Regions from separate parts of the Homo sapiens genome. Here region 1 is linked to region 2. The links are contacts of gene promoters, found by promoter capture Hi-C in blood cells and fetal thymus (Javierre and others, 2016). All regions are on one chromosome and are shown on one strand. The core of a region is centred on a gene start or on the middle of the fragment in contact, and the rest is flanking DNA. Distances in the headings are between cores, read along the strand shown. Region 1 overlaps FGD5-AS1 (FGD5 antisense RNA 1). Region 2 holds the start of MKRN2 (makorin ring finger protein 2).

Region 1 (3,292 bases), core at 793-3,292, 2.4 Mb before region 2:
GAAGAAATTGGCCTGTCTTGCTCTTAAACTCTTGGGCTGTAGGTTTTCCTTACATATTTCTCTGTTTTATGTCGTGGTTTTGACTTGCCTGGGAAGGTGCAGGCGCTTATTTATCCTAAATGCCCTGAAGTGTTTAGGCTACAGGCTGTAGATCTTATACTGATTTTTTTTCTTCAGTTTTCTTGCTTATTAAGAATAAATATTGACTCCAGAATGGATGGGTTAACTTTTTTTCCCACACAGTATCCATTTGGGTTTTTATCAGGATGACTCCAACATTTAGTATTTTTTTTTCCATAATCTTATAATATTTCTATTTGGTAAAAAATGTTTTAAACACAGCTATTTCCCCTTCCTCCTTTTTCTGACGTTGCAAAATTGGGAAAAGAGCTAGGTTCGTTTTGTCATGGTAAAGCACAGCTCTTGAAATTGGAAGAGGCCTTAAGGGAATGTGGTCAAATTTTTTTCTTGCAGAAAGATTTTCCGATTTTAGGGGTGAAGTGGGTGAGAACTAGAAAGGTCAAGTGATGTACCTGAGAGGCAAAAGCAATTGCGTTTTTGCATTTTTGAAATTTGCTGTTTGATATTGGAATACATTCTTAAATAAATGTGGATCATTTTAATGCACATTTCTCACTTTATTTTTTTGCTAATGACTTATTGCTGTTTATTTTAGAATATGCTTTTTGTCTAATGATGTTAGATAAAAAGCAAATTTGGAGCAGTTTTCTTATTCGAGTTCAAAATGGTTCATAAAGCAGCGAAGACAACTCAAAACATCAGTAACACATTTGGCCCAGGAACTGCTAACAAACATACAGTGCAGTGGTGGCTTAAGAAGTTTTGCAAGGAAGAGAGCCTTGAAGATGAGGAACGTGATATGGGCCATGGGAAGTTGACAACGACCAATTGAGAGCAATCATTGAACTACATGAAAAATTACAGAAGAACTCAGCGTTGACTATTCTACGGTCATTAGGGTCGTTCAGCATTCGAAGCAAATTGGAAAGGTGAAAAAGCTTGATAAGTGGGTGCCTCATGAGCTGAGCGGAAATCAAAACTATCGTTTTGAAGTGTAGTCTTCTTTTATGCTACGCAACAACAAACCATTTCTCAATCGGATTGTGACATGTAATGAAAAGTGAATTTTATACAACAACCAGCTCAGTGGTTGGACCAAGAGGCAGCTCCAAAGCAGTTCCCAAAGCCAAACTTGCACCAAAAAAAAGGTCATGGTCACTGTTCGGTGGTCTGCTGCCCATCTGATCCACTACAGTTTTCTGAATCCTGGTGAAACCATTACATCTGAGAAGTATGCTCAGCAAATTGGTAAGATGCACCGAAAACTGCAATACCTGCTGCCTGCATTGGTCAACAGAAAGGGCCCAATTCTTCTCCACGACAACACCTGACTGCGTGTCGCACAACCAGTGCTTCAAAAGTTGAAGGAATTGGGCTACAAAGTTTTGCCTCATCCACCATATTCACCTGACCTTTCGCCAACTGACTACCACTTCTGCTAGCATCTTGACAACTTTTTGCAGGGAAAACACTTCAGCATGGTGCAGAAAATGCTTTCCAAGAGTTCGTCAAATCCTGAAGCACGGATTTTTATGCTACAGGAATAAACAAACATTTCTCATTGGCAAAAATGTGTTGATTGTAATGGTTCCTGTTTTGATTAATAGAATATGTTTTAGCGTAGTTACAATGATTTAAAATTCGCAGTCTGGAAATTTAATTTTTGCATCAACCTAATATTTCTATGGTAAATCCTTGCAAACATGGAAACAATGCATTTGGCCCAGTGCTTTGTGGTTGTGTACTCTTTTTCTTTGTTTTTTTAATAGATGGCATTGGCCGGGCATGGTGGCTCATGCCTGTAATCCCAGCATTTTGGGAAGGTGAGGTGGGTGGATCACCTGAGGTCAGGAGTTCAAGACCAGCCTGACTAACATGGTAAAACCCCATCTCTACTAAAAATACAAAAAAATTAGCTAGGCGGGGTGGCGGGCATCTAATTCCAGCTACTTCATGAGGCTGCGACAGGAGAATCATTTGAACTCGGGAGGCAGAGGTTGCAGTGAGCCGAGATCACACCATTGCACTCCAGCCTGGGCGATGAGCGAAACTGTCTCAAAAAAAAAAAAAGTTGGGGTCTCGCTGTGTTGACCAGGCTGGTCTCGAACTCCTGGCCTCAAGTGATCCTCCCATCTTGGCCTCCCAAAGTGTTAGGATTACAGGCGTGAGCCACCACACCCTGCCTGGTTGTGTACTCTTTTAAATACTAAGTTTTTAATGTTAAATGCTGCTTTTAGATACACTGTAAAAATACACCTATCAATGAGTTTTTTTATTAAAAACATTGCAATTGTACTAGACTTTAAATACTAAGCAATAATTCAGGCTTCAATGTTGGTTTATAGTTTTCTCATTTCTTTCATTTAATACCTCTGTAAAATGAAGCAGTTACTTCCATTTTCCTGAGGTGAGATAAGTGCCCTGCACAATGTTATAGGCCCAGTAAGTGAGACTGGAGCTCTGATCTAATCCCTTTGACATTAAAGTTTGTGCAGTAAACCAGCTATGTCAGTTTGCCACATTTGTAATAGTGTTCAATAAATTTTCACTTAAAGGTTTAATATTAAAGTAGTAGCAAGAATTCATAACCTTAATTGGCTTTAACAGCTTTTCTTTCCCTGAAAACAGATGCATATGTACACATGCACACAGATTGCTTACAATATCAGCACGTAAAAGGCCTTTGCACATTGAAGTCGGCACTGCTTTGGTGCCTTTTTTGTTTTTTGGCTCGGTGTTTTGACTGCAAGTCTTTTTGGATAGAATTTTATAGTTAGAAAGTAGCTAACACTTGGGTTTTATAGGCACAAAAAACAAGTCTTATACTAGCTGTACTTTATTTTTTGAGTTCTTATTAATGAGGAACATCCACTTTTGCATTGACAGTGATTTCAAGATTGCTTTATCAGCCTTTAAAGGATTCTTGACTAGTCGTGCACATCAGAACTGCCAGGTCCCCAGTGGTTCTGAAGCAGTAAGCTTTGGGTGGGCTCTGGCATCAGCACTTTCACTAAGCTTCACAGATAATTCTGATGCATACTCCAGGCCTGAACCACTGATCAATTTGAAACATGCATAACAAAGCAAAAAAAGTTTTGTTTCACCTTTTGAAATACAGTTAACTCTTTTACCATGCCAGAGATCATTCAGAGAGACAGGTCGTTGCTCCGGAGTGATACAGATCTGGCAGTACCCAGCCCTTGTGTGTGTG
Region 2 (6,189 bases), core at 1,033-3,532:
CATTTCCTATAAATTATCAATGTCTAGAGACAAGGCTTTTGTTAATGAGATAATAAAGTGAGAAAAGCTTTTGGTAGATAAGCTGGTAGAAAAGTTGATGGTAGATAAACACACTAATGTAAACTTGGTACTCTTGGTCATATTGGTTTTTTCCCACTTAAAACACCTGTTATGTTTTTTATTTGGCAAGGCAGTCATCGGGAGCCCTGACTCCTTTACACCCTTTTGTGAGTAAACTTCTTTGCAGTTTTACATATCCTTGTATGAGTTTCCTTTCATGGGAACACATTAAAAGCTTTGATAAGTCCTGCAATAAATAAATTTTAATTTAGCATTTCAAAACTTATCTGGAGGCCCTACAGTCTATGAGGGCATGAACTTTGATTTCACACCTCTGTCACTTGGAAGCTAAATGACCTTAGGCAAGTCGCTTCAATGCTGAGGCTCAGTTTTACGATCTGTGGAAGAGCGCTGGTTGCTGGATTATACACTACAGTACCTAAGAGCCGCAGCACATTGTAAGTCCCCAACAAACATGACTAAACACTTAAACAGAAGTGATCCCTTCTCAACATTCCAACCCAATCTTCATTTATATGGAGCAACATCCTACAGAACACCCCTGTTTGGGAAACAGAATTAAAGCTTTCAAGTCAAGCTATCTCCAGGTATACAAGGAAAAAACCAAGATGATCCTGATTTAGGTCCTTGTGCCTCTACTAAGGTGTAAAATTTTAGGCAAATTTCAAGTCTTTCTGAGCATAAGATTCCTTATTTGTAAAATAAGATACTACAGAGTTGAGATTCAATTATAAAGCATTATTACATAAATGTGTACTGTTTTGTGGACACTTCTTAGATGAGGTACGGGAATAAATGGTAGAATTAAACCATAGAGCGAGGGGAGGAATACAGAGGTTTTTCTAGGAGGCTACAAGCTGCTTTACAGTGCACAATGACCTAGGAATACTTCCTCCAGCAGGAGAAACTTTATACAAATAAAAATACGTAAACACACACAAACCCGTCTTCACAAAACACCTTCTAGTACAAATAACCTAGTAAAAGTCTTTTTATAGACACTAGGTGCAAATTTCTGACAACAGCTTAACATAAGCCACCTGGGCCTTGGATAAATTGAACAGTAAATGTACACTAATGCTAACAGAAAACTTACTACACAGTCACGTCTCAACTATTCATACCAATGAAGAGAAGTAACAACATAGAAAATAAACTGTTTATTACACAAACTCTATAACTGTTTTTAAGCAATGTTTCCCATAAAAATTATTAAATGAAATTTGCATTTTCCAAGCATACAATTCAATTTGCGTTTTCCAAACATACAATTCAATAGGACTAGACTCCATTACCAGTAAGCCACAAGCTGACCAAGCAATGAGGGTGTTACACAACCACACTATTCTATTTCATAGGAGCAGTCGTAGTGTAGCTATCTGGCTATTTTCTACAATAAACCATCCATTACCGTCGCATTTCTCCTCGTAAATGGCTCTCTCAGTAAGATAAATGAGTGTCAACGTCTTTCGGTCTCAGTTTCCTGCACTGTAAAATGGTAATAATAACTACTAAGTTGTCTTACTGTGAAGTCTGATGATAATGAATATAAAGGACTTGGAAATATGCAGGGCGCTTCGCCGATATTCACAATATGCTACCTGTCGTTATTTTCCACACAACAACTTTTACTTGTTAACTCTCTGCAAGTTTAGATTGCATCTGGATTCTCCAAACTTTGAGGCCCTCATAATCGATTAACAAATTACTCCTATGTGGTATCCCCATTTGTAACCGTCCTCTCGGCGTCCCTTTACTCAACTTCAAATCTTTTCCAGTTAAAGCGTAAGCCCCAGAGCCTTCCCGACAGCGCCCCGGCATCCTGCACGGCCCTGGCTAGGACGTCCTTCCTCCCAGCCCACAGGGGCCACGCTTCAAACTCGGGGCGTAGCCCCCCGCGCTGGCCTCGCCCAGCGTCTCGGCCACGCATCCCCCGGATCCCCGGCTGTGGCGGCAGCGCTCGCTCTGCCTCGCAAAGCCCCGCCGCGAACAGCCGAGTAACTTTCCGAGTCCCGCTCTAGCCTCAGGTTCCCGGACCACAGCACTGGCGCGCACCGGCCCCCCTGCGGCCTGGGGGAGCGGCCCGAAGCTCCTGGCTCCAGCGCACTGACCTGCAAGTGATCTGCTTGGTGCTCATGGTGGCTGGGCTGAGGGACCGTCGTCGTGCCGCCGCCTCTCGCAGCCGCTGCCGCCTCGGCCTTGGCCCTGGCCCGGCCCATCCCGCGTAGCCGCGTCACGCCGGCGCACGCCGGCGCACGCCGCCCCTCCGGTGTGGCACCTTTGTAGCGCCGGCGGGTAACCTAGCCGTCGTCACAATTGGTTCCGCACCGGGGATCGGGCCGGCTGTCCCGGCATCCCTGCTCTCGGTGTCCCGCACTTCCAAGCCTCCGGGGCGGAGCCTGGCTGGCATCTTAGTCCTGCCAGTCTTATCCCGATGCCTACTGTTAGTGCCTGCGATTCTGCCCCGATCGCCAAGAGTATTCCTTAGGGATCTCCCGCCTCCTTCGAGGCACTTCACCACTCCTGGGGAAACTCCAGCCTCTCCTCTTAATCCCGGATGCCCCTATCCATTCATACTCGCACTCACTGGGCACCCTTCTCAGGCCCTGCCTCAACTGTTCCCGCCGGACCTCGCCTCCCACTTAAGGAAATTCCTTAGCTCTCTCCCAACTGCTCTTTCCCCAAATCTCTACTTCCACAAGTTTTAGTCTTCATTTTCTTTCCTGCCAGTCTTGTGCTGCTCGTCTTCCATTTCCTATGGTGGAAACCCCAAAAGTTATTTTTGACACTTCCCTCTAGCTCTCTATACCCTGCAGATTCTGCTCCCACACCTCTGTCCAATGCGTCCTCTTCTGCCCCCTTTCCACCGTCCCTTCTACCTAGCACCATGCGATACCTTTTTTTTTAATTATTATTATTTTATTTTTTATTTTTTTGAGACGGAGTTTCTCTCTTGTTGCCCAGGCTGGAGTGCAGTGGGGCGATCTCGGCTCACTGCAACCTCCGCCTCCCGGGTTCAAGCGATTCTCCTGCCTCTCAGCCTTCCACGTAGCTGGAATTACAGGCGTGCACGCCTGGCCAGCCATGCGATAGCCTTTTAACTGGTCTTCTGGCTTCCGTTCCTGGTAAAAATCTATTTTTAAAACATAAATCGGATCATGTCATTCACCTTTTAATCTTACAATGGTTTCTCATTGCTTAAAAACTCGAGATACATAACATGCACAATATAAGTGCACCAAACACATTCTATGAATTTTTGCACATGCATACACTCATGAAACTACCACCCAGATCAAAATAAAGAATTTTTTGTTTTGTTTTGAGGCAGGGTCTTGCTCTGTCGCCCAGGCTGGAGTGCAGTGGCGCCATCATAGTTCAAGCAGTCCTCTGCCTTAACCTCCCCAGCAGCTGGGAATACAGGTGCGCGACACCATGCTCGACTAAACTTCAAAATGCTGGAGTAAGGAGAGGTTGAGCCGGAAGGATCCTTTGAGCATAGTTCACTGCAGTCGAGGCTGCAGGGGGTGGGTGGGGGCTGGATATTATCGACACCCCAGAAGGGCTTCCTTATGGTCCTTCCCAGGCAATACTTTACAAAGGTCATTGCTTGGGTTCATCTCTATCACTATAAATTAGTTTAACTGTTCTTGACTTTCATATAAATAATAATTCAGTACCTACGCTTTTGTCTGCCTTCTTTTGACCAACATTTTATCTGTGAGATCTTTCCATGTTATGTATGTATAGCTGTATGTTCTTTTTTTACTTTGCTATAAAAATATTGAGTCTTCCAATGAATGAGCATGGTATATACTTCCAATTATTTAGAACTTTTGAAATTTTTCTCAGGAATTTGGAAGTATACTGGAAATTTTGTTTTCAGTGTCTTGAATATTGCATTTTAACTCATAACACATTTGATCCATGCAATTCATGCTCATAAAAATTACACGTCTTTTTTTTTTTTTTTTTTGAGACGGAGTCTTGCTCTGTCACCCAGGCTGGAGTGCAGTGGCATGCTCTTGGCTCACTGCAACCTCCACCTCCCGTGTTCAAGCGATTCTCCTGTCTCAGCCTCCGGAGTAGCTGGGATTATACAGGCGCACGCTGCCACGCCCAGCTGATTTTTTGTGTTTTAGTAGCGACGGGGTTTCACCCTGTTGCCCAGGCTGGTCTCGAACTTCTGAGCTCAGGCAATCCACCCGCCTCGGCCTCCCAAAGTGCTGGGATTACGGGCGAGAGCCACCGCGCCCAGCCCATGCCACTTATTTTTAAAATTCAGCTTATCTCATTCTTTATGGAATACATTCACGATCTGAACGTTATTATGTTCAAATATTTTAAAAGCGTAAAGTGAAAAGTCTCAGTCTCCTGTCAATTTAGTTCCCGCCTCTTCAAAACAAAAAGCAGAAACATTTTTTAAAACCTCAAAACCTGGCCACTGTTATCAAATTTGTATACATCTTTCCAGAATTTCTTTAAATATACACAAGTAAATACATATATATTATTTTCTCCTTTTTGTAGAAAAGATAACATAACGTACTGTTCTGCACAGCGTACATAATCAGTGGAGATTTTTCCATATCAGTACATAGAGCCTCTTCCTCCTTTCGTAGAACTGTATAGTATTCCGTTGTACGACTATGCCATAAGTTATTTCATCAGCCTTGTACTGCTGGTGCCCTTTAGGGTGTCTGTGCAAATAAAACACTGGATCGGGCACATGTTCTCAGGATCTCCTGAGGTCTGTGTCATGGGCAATATATATATATATTTTTATATTTCATATATATTTCATATATTTCATATATATTTATGAAAAAATAATACAACACTGGATCAACGACAGCCAGTGTGCACTTCCACAAGCTGTACCCAACAGCTTGGTTCCTGCCACTGTCATGGTACTTAGCACTTAGACTTTTCCCGAAGGATGCAAGCAGTCTCCACTTGGGGTTCTTCCGGCGTTATCTGGCGCTGGGCACTAAACACCAAGTCCTGCCCCACCCGGGACGTGGAACTCACTTTCCTCACCCCCAGGGAACCCGCGCTGGCAGAGAAGGCAGGGCCACTCGCTCCTGCCCGTAGCAGGGGCGCGTAAAACTGCGTCTGCTTGCTAACCACCAGCTCCCGTTCTCGCCCCTTAGGAAAAGCAACTTTGCTACCAAACACTCGGGAGAAAAAGGCTATCAGATAGAAGCGGGTGAAGAAGCTGAGAAAACAGAAGAGAAGGGTGGCTGCCAGCTCGGGACTCAAAATGGCCATCTGGGCGTAGAGACACAGAGACCCTTTGCGCAGACGTGCGCCGAGGGTCTTGCAAAGCTTTCGTTTTCTTTGTGTGCCGACCTGCCCCTAGAAGCGGTTTTCGATGCTATTTTAAATGATATTCCTAAAATTTCCGAATTGCTTGTTGCTTATATATAGAAATACACTGGATCTTTGTATACTGACTTGGGATTCAGCTCCATGCTAAATTTTGAATTAATTCTAATGGTTTATTTGTAGTTAGTTATCGATTTTCTATACACAATCACGCCATCAGCAAATAATGACAGTTTTGCTTCCTTTTCATCTTTGTATCTTTTATTTCTTTTCCTTGCCTTATTGCATGCACTGTCTACAGCCTTCAGAACAATGTTAAAGAGAAGTAGTAATAGTGTACATCTTATTTTGTTCCTGGATTCAATAAAAATATTTAATATTTTACTTTAAAATTATTTAATATTTTAATTAAAATGTTAGCCCTAGATTTTTTTAGGCTATCCATTGCCAAATTAAGAAAGTTTCTTTCTAGTTTTATTAGCATTTTTACCATGAACACATCTTGACTTTTATCACTTTTTTTTTTGCATGTATTGAGAAACCTATATTGTTTTTCCCTTTTATACTGGTAATGTATTGAATTATACTGATTGATTTTTAATGTTAACCCTACCCAATTGCTCAGGATAAACCCCACATGGCCATGATATATTTTCTATAAATCATCTATTTGTTAAAATTGTGTTTAGAATTTTTGCATCCTTGTGTATGAGAGATATTAGTCTGTAGTGTTCCTTTCTTATAATGTCCATGCCAGGTGCTGGTATCTGGGATATGCTG

What was found. The method cuts DNA at HindIII sites, captures the fragments that hold promoters and counts their contacts. A CHiCAGO score of 5 or more calls a contact.
Region 1: a contact is called between a fragment that was not itself captured here and the fragment with the promoter of MKRN2 in region 2, in 1 of 17 cell types (total CD8 T cells). The highest score is 5.0, in total CD8 T cells.

What each region holds. Positions count from the first base shown.
Region 1 is chr3:14,943,539-14,946,830 of GRCh38, reverse strand. It overlaps FGD5-AS1 (FGD5 antisense RNA 1), which reads left to right. Exons shown (of 2, transcript NR_046251.1): 2 at 677-3,292. Among named protein-coding and RNA genes, the nearest start is that of NR2C2, 2.4 kb to the left of the region's middle. RefSeq lists an enhancer at 1-97. The HindIII fragment of the contact is 2,041 bases long and covers 1,022-3,062 here.
Region 2 is chr3:12,553,180-12,559,368 of GRCh38, reverse strand. MKRN2 (makorin ring finger protein 2) reads right to left here and starts at 2,282. Exons shown (of 8, transcript NM_014160.5): 1 at 2,193-2,282. The coding sequence starts at 2,218. It also overlaps a transcript of MKRN2OS not described here. RefSeq lists enhancers at 1,563-1,622, 1,532-2,055, 2,443-2,502, 2,553-2,662 and a silencer at 2,183-2,272. The HindIII fragment of the contact is 4,764 bases long and covers 648-5,411 here.